Regions from separate parts of the Homo sapiens genome. Here region 2 is linked to region 1. Evidence: promoter capture Hi-C in 16 types of primary human blood cells and fetal thymus (Javierre and others, 2016). All regions are on one chromosome and are shown on one strand. Each heading gives the region's core, a stretch centred on a gene start or on the middle of the fragment in contact. The rest is flanking DNA. Distances are from core to core; before and after follow the strand shown. Region 1 holds the start of COLCA1 (colorectal cancer associated 1). Region 2 has its middle 60 kb from the start of POU2AF1.

Evidence for each region. Contacts are between HindIII fragments. The CHiCAGO score rates a contact against its expected background, and 5 or more counts as called.
Region 2: a fragment that was not itself captured here is called in contact with the fragment with the promoter of COLCA1 in region 1 in 4 of 17 cell types (activated CD4 T cells, non-activated CD4 T cells, total CD4 T cells and 1 more); the score reaches 6.8 in activated CD4 T cells.

Annotation. Positions count from the first base shown.
Region 1 is chr11:111,303,465-111,308,405 of GRCh38, forward strand. COLCA1 (colorectal cancer associated 1) reads right to left here and starts at 1,584. Exons shown (of 2, transcript NR_169237.1): 1 at 1,364-1,584. POU2AF3 (POU class 2 homeobox associating factor 3) reads left to right here. Exons shown (of 5, transcript NM_001271458.2): 3 at 1,464-1,518; 4 at 2,930-3,159; 5 at 4,605-4,941. The HindIII fragment of the contact is 13,879 bases long and covers 1-4,941 here.
Region 2 is chr11:111,437,305-111,441,805 of GRCh38, forward strand. It overlaps a transcript of BTG4 not described here. Among named protein-coding and RNA genes, the nearest start is that of POU2AF1, 60 kb to the left of the region's middle. RefSeq lists silencers at 1,946-1,995, 2,016-2,085 and enhancers at 1,994-2,580, 3,417-4,501. The HindIII fragment of the contact is 450 bases long and covers 2,946-3,395 here.

The DNA of each region.
Region 1 (4,941 bases), core at 334-2,833:
CCCATGACTAGAAAGATAATATCAAGTAGGATATTGTAAACACACCTCAGGGAGATAACATGGGGTGGAGGCAGACAAACAGGCCAATCCGGGGGAGGAATGGAGTTAAGGAAAGCTCTACAATGAGGCAGATTTTTTAATACCCACTCCTTCCAAGTCCTTCAGCTCAAGCTGCAGCCAAATATTTGCATAAAGAGCTGGTAAAGGATTCCAGCTTCCTGGTTCATGACATTACAGCATGGATCGTTTTCAAAATTAATACTGCCTCCTGTTTCAGCAGTGGCTGCCTGCACAGCTCTCCCTGTGGCTCAGAGTATGGGAGTGAGTATGCCCTGTAACCCAAAAGAGGTGTGGTGAGCTCGGCTTCCCAGCACAGAATCACAGAGCAATACGGGTACCTTTAAACTTTAAAGCCACACCTGAAATTTAAAAAAAAAAAAAAAATCCTAAATTACTCAGTATAATTATTAATTCAACTGAAAAATGCAGGCTGCTTTACTTTGAATAGTTAAAAAGAGCAGTCTCATAAACTTTTAAGTATTTAAATACAGTAGTTTAAATAAAAGCAACTTTTATAGATAGTAGTACAAAACATACAAAGTACTGGAATAATTCCCGACCATTAACTAGAATGAAAGTAGGTTCCAACTCACCAACCACAGCTTTAAGAAAATATTTTCTATTTTAATATTTCATGTATACTAAGAACATGTGAATATTTTTAGCTACTCAGAATTAACAAAATTAAGAATTGTGTTCTTTGGGGAAACGACTCCCTAAGGCTAAGTAGCCAGATGGTATATGAAATTTTTGAGAAAAATAATTGACTAAGCCATAGATAGTTGAGATTAAATAAATGTTAGTCCTTAATAATTTTAAATCGAATAGTTTAATAGGAAGCCTTTTGCTGCATTTTCTCAAACTGTTACATTTTTACCACATAAAATTATTTACATTAATTTTTTACTAAAAATTAATCACTTTTAAAATTTAAGTAGAAGAATCTGATATTAGGAAAAAAACTCCCCAAGCAAGCAAACATAAATATTGGATCTAGATAAAACATAATATTGGTTGTATTTAAGAAGTCTGTTTTATGATTCGATTTCAGGTTTTCATTGTTCCAATGCAATTTTCCAGATTGAATCTTAAAAGGATTATAAACGTCAAAAGGCATTTTAAATTCTACACGGACTTAATACACCTACCGCAATTCTATGCACCTGTCTTTCAAATTCTATAAAATATTTGTTGACACTTTCCCTTTCACTTGTTTTTTACAATATATTTTGTACAAAAATTTGTCAAACATTGAAAAAAAAAAAGAAAGCAACTTTTTCTGAGAAGGAAGAATCTGGCTTACCTTATAGCAGAAAGAAACATAGTCCTCATCAAAATGTCTTAGCTTTCCCTTCAGAGCATTTCTTTCAGCCTGCTTCACGGTGATATTCTTGCTTTGACAGCGGTCCGGAGGCAGCAGTGTCCACCTTTCAGACCCAGTTGCACCATCTTCTGCAGGTCAGTACAGCCAGCATTAACAGTTCCCTCAAACACTCTTTCAAAAGTCCATCTCAAAAGTCTTTCAGTCTTGATTCAGGGGTTAAGATAGGCACCACCATTTAATTGGAATCCAACCAATCAGAAGGTGAAAAAGGCATAGTCACTCCACATGCAAGCCCAGCAAGAAAACAAGCATAAATGTTGTCTTCATTTCTGAATTCTCTACTCTCTGCTATATTGTCTCAAGAGTTTGTTCTTCACATTTATTCCAGTTCCTCATCGCCAAGTAACTAAACTGAACTACAAAATCAGAATTGTTCTCAGGAACTTATCTTTTTTTAGTGCACTGTTAGATGGAATACAGAACATCCCAAGACACTCAAATAATGCCTTTGCTCTGTTCCTTTAGTTTCCAGCCGACAGGGGCTTCCCTCCCCTTCTCTGTTCCCAGAAAGCAGTTCAAACAAGTGTAGGTTTTCTCAGCCCAATAAGAATAACTCGATTACATAAACACTCCTACCTCTGCTACTCAACAGCTAAGAGTTTAAGGAGGTCGTATATAAGGAAACCTCTGCCTATGGCCTCTCCCCACTAAATGTGTCACCGTAGCTTCACCTTAAAGGAACTTGAGACCTCAAGAAGAACACAGTGTCCTTTAGTCCCTTTGATGAGCACACTCTAATCCTCTCTTCTTCCAGCATTTACAGATAATTATCACAAATTGGGCCTATTAATAATAAAATGGAAAAGGAGTAATGTTTACTGATTATCTTTGTTTGATGTTTAACAACTTACTTTGATCACATCATGATGTTAACATGTTCACTGAGAAAACATTTTTGCTTTTTGTACTTCCGAGCCAATAGTGTTAATTGGTACTCTATGTTCCTGGTTTCCATGATTATCATTTGCATTCTCATTTAAATCACTTCTCAAAATTCTCTCCTCCAAACTTAAGTTACTGAGTAAGAGTGAAAAGTTCAAAAAAGCAATCACCATAAGTCAAAAGAATTATTTCCCGTAGCATCAGAAGTTTTCTCAAAGCCTCAACAACTTTGTCAGTTACTTCTGAGAGGTTTACGTGAACTGCCGGTAGGGGCTGGATGTCCATGGTTTTACAGCCCAAGAAAGGGGAAGTTTGAGCCATTATTTGACTGTGACACTTGGACACAAATTGGGTCACCATCCTTTTATTTTTGCCCTAACCAGTTTTACAGCCAGTTTCCACATTATTAACCATGTTCATTTCCCTGGAGCTTGAATTAGCTAGGACAACTAAAGAGTCAAAATTGCATTCCCGTTTACTTTTCTGGATTTGTTAAGCCCCCTTTCCCCCTAGACATAGTAAATATTCAGAGTATAGATCTCCATTCAAATCTGTGTTTTGCAATTTTTATGCAAAAACCTGCCTTTTTCCTTTCTCCTCTAGGACTGTATTTTGAGCCTGAACCAATTTCTTCCACGCCCAATTATTTGCAACGGGGAGAATTTTCCAGTTGTGTTTCATGTGAAGAAAACTCAAGCTGCCTCGACCAGATCTTTGATTCCTACCTTCAGACAGAGATGCACCCGGAGCCTTTGCTCAATTCCACACAAAGTGCTCCACACCATTTCCCAGACAGCTTCCAGGCCACCCCTTTCTGCTTTAACCAGAGCCTGGTAATTTTTCTCAGTTCTTTATATACCTGATTGTGTCTAACTATGGGGTAATAGTGCTTTGTGAGTTTGCACCATCCCGTGGGAAATCATACAAAAACTATCAGCAAGGAAATCATCCAAGGAAACAAGCAGAGAAGAATTTAAAAGTCAATGTATAGAAGTAGCCACACACTGCAGGGCATAAACCTTTGGATACACACGTAATTTAGATTTCCCAAGATTTAGATTTTTCGGCCACCAAGTAAGTTGGTGGGTAGCAATAAAAAGAGGTTCCTGGCAATATTCATTTAATGTTTTTTAAACTGTAAAGTCAAGAGACCTACTAATTGGAAGTCAGTGGTTTAAACAATGGCTCTTGGATTTTTTGATGGAATTTTGAGTTCTTGGAAATGGAATTAAGGCTGTGTATATATGGTAACAAACTTCATTTCATTAGGGGGAGGTTTTGCTTTGTTTTGTCATTGAACTGGCTCTACTAACTGATAGTTTGAGTCTGCTATAAGCACAATAACTCATTTGGGTCTGAGATGGTTAGTAAAAATGAAGCCGTAATCTTTGAAAAAAATTAAATTGGTTGTTCTCGGTGGATCTCAAATGTTTGAAAATGTGTTATCCTTCAAAATGAAGTAAGGTTTCTATTAGTGGAAACTAGTTATTTCAGTTGTCTTTTAGAGACTCACAGGTTTGTTTTGTAAACCTTAAATTGTAAAGTTTTCTTTTTTAAGGAATGTAAATACTTTTTGCCTTTGGATTGTCAAAAGTCTGTGTGGGCATCAGACTAAATTTTAGAGCGGATGGGAAATTAACTCTGCAGAATATGCACATTGTCACGGGGAAAATATGGGGCCCCAGTGACCCAGTTCCTTCCCAGCCTCCAAGTTAGGTTTTCTCAGTAACAATTGTAGACTTGCTTAAGAGAAAACAGACAGTAGCTCTCACTCCAGGGAACAAGACTTTAGTGGCGAGACAGGTAGTGACACATCTTGGCATATGCCAGGGATACTCCAAGATCCTTGAAGATCCAAGTTATGCCTTTGCATGATCACCTGATTCTTCATGGTGAGGGTGTGGAGAAACATCCAGGGTGCCACCTACAGCTTAGATTGTGGCATACAGCAGGATTTGATATGCAGGTGACTTGAAGCACAATGGGATTTTGTGGTTTCAGAACGAGCACCCTCTAAAGTAGGATTATAACAAAGGAAGCCAGTGAAGCAAGGCAATTTATTGTTTGGAAAGAAATAGGTAACTATAGATTGTGGTGTCATGAAATCATGTAGTCAGCAAATAAAATTACTTCTGCAGACTTGGGTTGGGTGTTGTTTCGTTTGATTTGGTTTTTTACCCCTCATTTTCTCACTCTGCATTGGTAAACCCACACTGTTCAGTTCTTTGATCCTGTCTAAGTTATTAAGCTCTTTGTTTCTTGGTTGTCATTTCTCTAGATCCCAGGATCACCTTCAAATTCCTCCATTCTCTCTGGCTCCTTAGACTACAGTTACTCGCCAGTGCAGCTGCCTTCATATGCTCCAGAGAATTACAATTCCCCTGCTTCTCTGGACACCAGAACCTGTGGCTACCCCCCAGAAGACCATTCCTACCAACACTTGTCCTCACACGCCCAGTACAGCTGCTTCTCCTCGGCCACCACCTCCATCTGCTACTGCGCATCGTGTGAGGCAGAGGACTTGGATGCTCTCCAGGCAGCAGAGTACTTCTACCCGAGCACAGACTGTGTGGACTTTGCCCCCTCAGCAGCCGCCACCAGTGATTTCTATAAGA
Region 2 (4,501 bases), core at 1,921-4,420, 140 kb after region 1:
GATCATTCTCCTCCTCCAGTGCTCAGAACTCCTCAGCAAAAATGACCCTCAGTTTTTACCACCCCTGAAAAACCCCAGATGAGTCCAGGGACTCCTGCCAGGAACTGGGTTGGGGGATGAGGGGGATGCTGGAAAGGGATGGAGTTTCTCAATTTCTAAAGCTATTGTTTCTCATTCCCAAATCACCATGCTCCAATCTGGGCCCAAGAGCTGTGCTCAACTTGAGGACTGGTGTGGCTCCCTCTGCAAGAAGGTTAGGCCAATGCCAGTGAACCAGCCACTGAAGGCTGGAGGGGCCGGAGAGCCTCTGAGCATCCTCACCGCCTTGCCTGAGGCTAGAGCTACAACAGCGAGTGCCTAGACCCCCACCTGTATCCCCATTGCATCCCCACCACTACCCAGCAGCTCAGGAGCAGGCTCTTCCCTCCACTCCTAGGCGACACTCTGCAGTTTCCATCCTGGGGTCTCTTACTTGCTTCTGCTACTCTGCCCAGTTTCTCGTGTTGATAGCTTAGCTACTCAGCCTTCCTGGGTTTTCTTTTCAGCCCTGGTCATATCTTTAATGATCTCTATCCTCAACATGTCTAATAGCCCAAGGACCAAGCTCATTCCACTCTCATCCTCAACCCAGATCTGCAGGACCCCAGCCAGGCCCATAGCCCCCCAAGCAGAGGGGAACTGACAGCTATGACTCTGACTATACTAGACAACATTCTACACCCACCAGGAAGTAGAGCCTTGGAGATGTCCAAGCTGACCCTGTTATTAAGGGCTGAGAAGCAGTTGTAGATGCTGCTTAAAGGAAGAGGGGAAGGGGGCTGCCAGGGCAGCCACAGAGGCATCAACAGACGGGACACAGAGGTCTCTGGTGTCACCCTGATGGCAGTTCTGCAAGTGCTGACACGGGGTCCCAGAGTCCCTAGACCTAACTTTGTGGGTTAGACATCTGACTCCAATTTGTGTGGGCCAAATTCTAGCCTGGAACTTGGGCCCCAATATGCACAATCTGTCTTCCCCACAGCCCCTGAGACACCATGTGAGCCAGGGCACACAGCCAGCCTGCACCCTGCCCTTCTCAACAGGAATTCCTTGGCTCATGCAGCCTCCACCTCTGGCCTGACTCTGTTCTTTCTCTGTGAAACCTTCCTCGACCCCTTCAGTTAGCCTCTGTCCAAAGCCAGGCACTCTCATGGGCCATTTCCCCCAGCGCTTACCAAATGTTGCCAGGTATTTTAGTTATCTGGGTAAACATCTTCTCTGTAAACTCCTCAACAACAGAGACATTTTATTCATCTCCATTCTCACCCACCACCGCCAGCACCTAGCTCTGCACCTTGCCAAGAGTAAACATTAAACATTTTCTGGATCAATAAACTCAGGATAATCCTCCCAAGTCCTTATTCTGAATGGCCACAGGAAAACCAAAACATTTCCTCATCTCCTTGGTGACCCCATACATTACCCTAAGCTTCAAAAGAGAGGATGCTAAAGAAGGCGTGATGTGGTCAGGGGGTCCCTGGATATGTGAACCTCCCCCGTCCTAACTGGACACTGTCTTAGGTTTCCATTTATACCTTCCCGGTGGCACCTCTGTCCCTGCTGTCCTATCCATCCACCAGAAATCTCTGGCCAACACATTAAACATATTTTCAAATCCCCAATTCCCTGAACTTAAGGGAAAGCAGGCTGCCCCGGCCTGGGTACTGGGTGTTACCTGACTAGCACGTGGGCTGCCCCCTGTCCCGCACACCCACCCGCTGGGCAGCTAAGCCTCTGCGGTTGGGACCCCAGGGAGGCTTCCTGGTGATTTGCATATAATCACACAATGCCAGGCACAACAAAGCCACTCAAACAGCAGAGCCTTCTCAGCTGAGTTTAAAGTTTAATCTCCTTAATACAAAAGTTTCTGCTTTGCTTTTGATGGGTTCTGGAACTCTTGCTGATGATGCTAAACAAATAGTCACCCTTTCTCCCCCTCTGGAGGCTTTGCCCAGCGCATTGTGGCAGCACAGGCCCCAGTTGTTGTGGTTTACGGGCCAGACCTGCACCTGCACTGTTTGTGTGAGCTCATCTGGATGCCCAGAAGGGCTCTTTAAAGAGAGCCCAGCACAGCCGCAGATGGAGCAGGAGAAGACACCAGCCCAAGGACTGCTACAACCCTTGGCCAGACACCAGCTCAAGGCTGCCTGTACTCTCGGTGCCCCCCACCGCCCTCTACTTCCCTTACAGAAACATTCATCCCCAAGTCCTCCTCCCAGAACCCAGCTCCCTCCTATGTGTCTCTCAGGACCTTCCTCTTCCAGATGCCGTCCAGCCCCCTCGTACTTCCCCTCCCAGACTCACACCCCCTCTCAGTTTCTGCACACTTTGCCTCATCATCTGGAGGCCATTCCTAGGTCAGTTTTCCTATTTACTTCAGCACTTCACCTATAGGAGTCATAGAGCCATCCCAAGCAAAGAGCCTCTAGAAGACCCTTTCAAAGACATGCTCAGCACTTTACGTTTTGGCTCCAGCTCCTCCGCCCGGTCATTTTGAGAATGAGCCATGATCCTCCATCTCTCATATTGATGCGGGAATTGGAAGTTGGTCATTGAACTGGTGGCCTGAATAGGGGTGCCCCAGCCATCTTGGTTATCTGTTTTTGTGTAGCAAACAATCTCAAAACTTAGCAGCCTAAGACAACGGTTGTTTTATTTTATCTCACAGTGCTGTAGTTCAGAAACCTGTTCAGGGCTCAGCTGGGTAAGTCTGCTCTGTTGGCATTGGCTGGGGTTACTCTGTGATCTGGGATCTAAGATGGTTTCATTTTCATGGCTGGTGACTTAGTGAGTATGGCTAAAAGGCTTGGCTCAGCTGGGACTGTTGAGCAAAGGGCCTGCACATGGCCTCTCCAGCCTAGCAGATCAAGGCTCCCAGAGAGAGTGTCCCAAAAGAACTCTGCAGAAGCTTCAAGCCTTCACATGACCTAGGCTCTAAAATCCCAGAATCTCACTTCTGCTACATTCTATTAGTCAAGCAGATTCAAAAGAAAAGAAATTGCAACATCTTTAATCTGTCACACCAGCTAAAGAGGTCTTTTCAGAAGCCACCAGCCCCTGTAACTAGTTCAGAGACAGAGTTTCCTGGTCCCAATGTCTAAATAACCTATCCTTGCAAATAGAACATCACAGTTACCAGCCTGCATGTACTAGGAGCTGACATCCTTTCCATTCTTTCCCCAGAGACTCAAACCAACATCCTACCCCTGGGCGGTGTCCCCATTTGACCCCGTTTGGCCTGCCTCTTACCTACCTTGGCTGTTGGCAGGAACTTTGGTTTTTCTCAGTTGCTGCCAGACCTAGATCTGCCCTTTTCAGATTTTTGTTCACAGATAGCTTTAGATGGGAGATAAGGAAGCTTGAGTCAGGTCAGTGCTGAGGCGAAGATGCTGCCCCAAGACAGGGGGAATGCCCCAGACTTGTCCCATCCAGCCCTTGCAGAATGGCACCAGCAACAAGCACCTGCTGTAGAGAAGGGTTGTCACTATGTTGCAGCTCTGAGACTCTACAGAAGTCAGAGGTGGGTCATGGAGATGAGGGGACAAGGAGAGTGAGGAGGGGATAGGTGACTATCTGCCACACCACTTAGGTACTGAGTCACATCAACATGTATGCAATACCTGGTCAGACAGGCACCCGCAGACCCATCTGGCCCAGACCAGCTGCACTTTCCCAGGCTTAGGCTGGGAGTGGCAGTCATCTGGCAGAGTCTTGGTTCCTGGAGTGAGGGCACAAGGTCACACAGGCCAGGGCCAGAGACCGCTCTCTTTTCTTTTTTTTTTTTTTCACAAATACATTTCAAATGTTATTATGAAATATGCAAGCCATACAAAAAGGAATGAAGAATACAATAATAAACACCCATGTACCCACAACCTAACTTAAGAAATAAAATATTAGCAAAGAAAATCTCATAATGTAATATCTCAGGGCTCTGGGGAGTAGGGGAGAGAACAGGGTCTGCTCATGTTCCCACAGGAAGGAAGGAGTATTGAGAAGGAAGAGAGAAGCAAACTAGAGCATCAGCAGCGGCTCCTCCGAGAGAGAGATGGCTCCTTGAGCACCAGAGTCAAGGGAGATTTTATGGGCTTGGGAACAGACCACAGAGAATACACCACCCTTCTTCTTTCAACTCTCAGCTCAGAGACTTCCCAGATCCCACAGTCTGAATTAGTCATGAGTTCCTTAGAGATGCCTTACGGATTGACTTCTCTGTCCTTGTCTGCTCTTGGGCTGTTTATAATATATCCATGCCTCTCCCACGCCTGACTATAAACTCCGTGACTGTGCCTCGCTTTTGATCTCATGAAGTTCTTGTACAGGGTAAGAACTCCTTGTTATTGACTTGAATGTGTGACTAATCCTGGGAAACCCCCATGGTTGACGGGCAGGGGACAGAAGCATTAACAGAAAGGGAAAAGCAAAGCGAGTTGGGCCGGGCATGGTGGCTCACGCCTGTAAT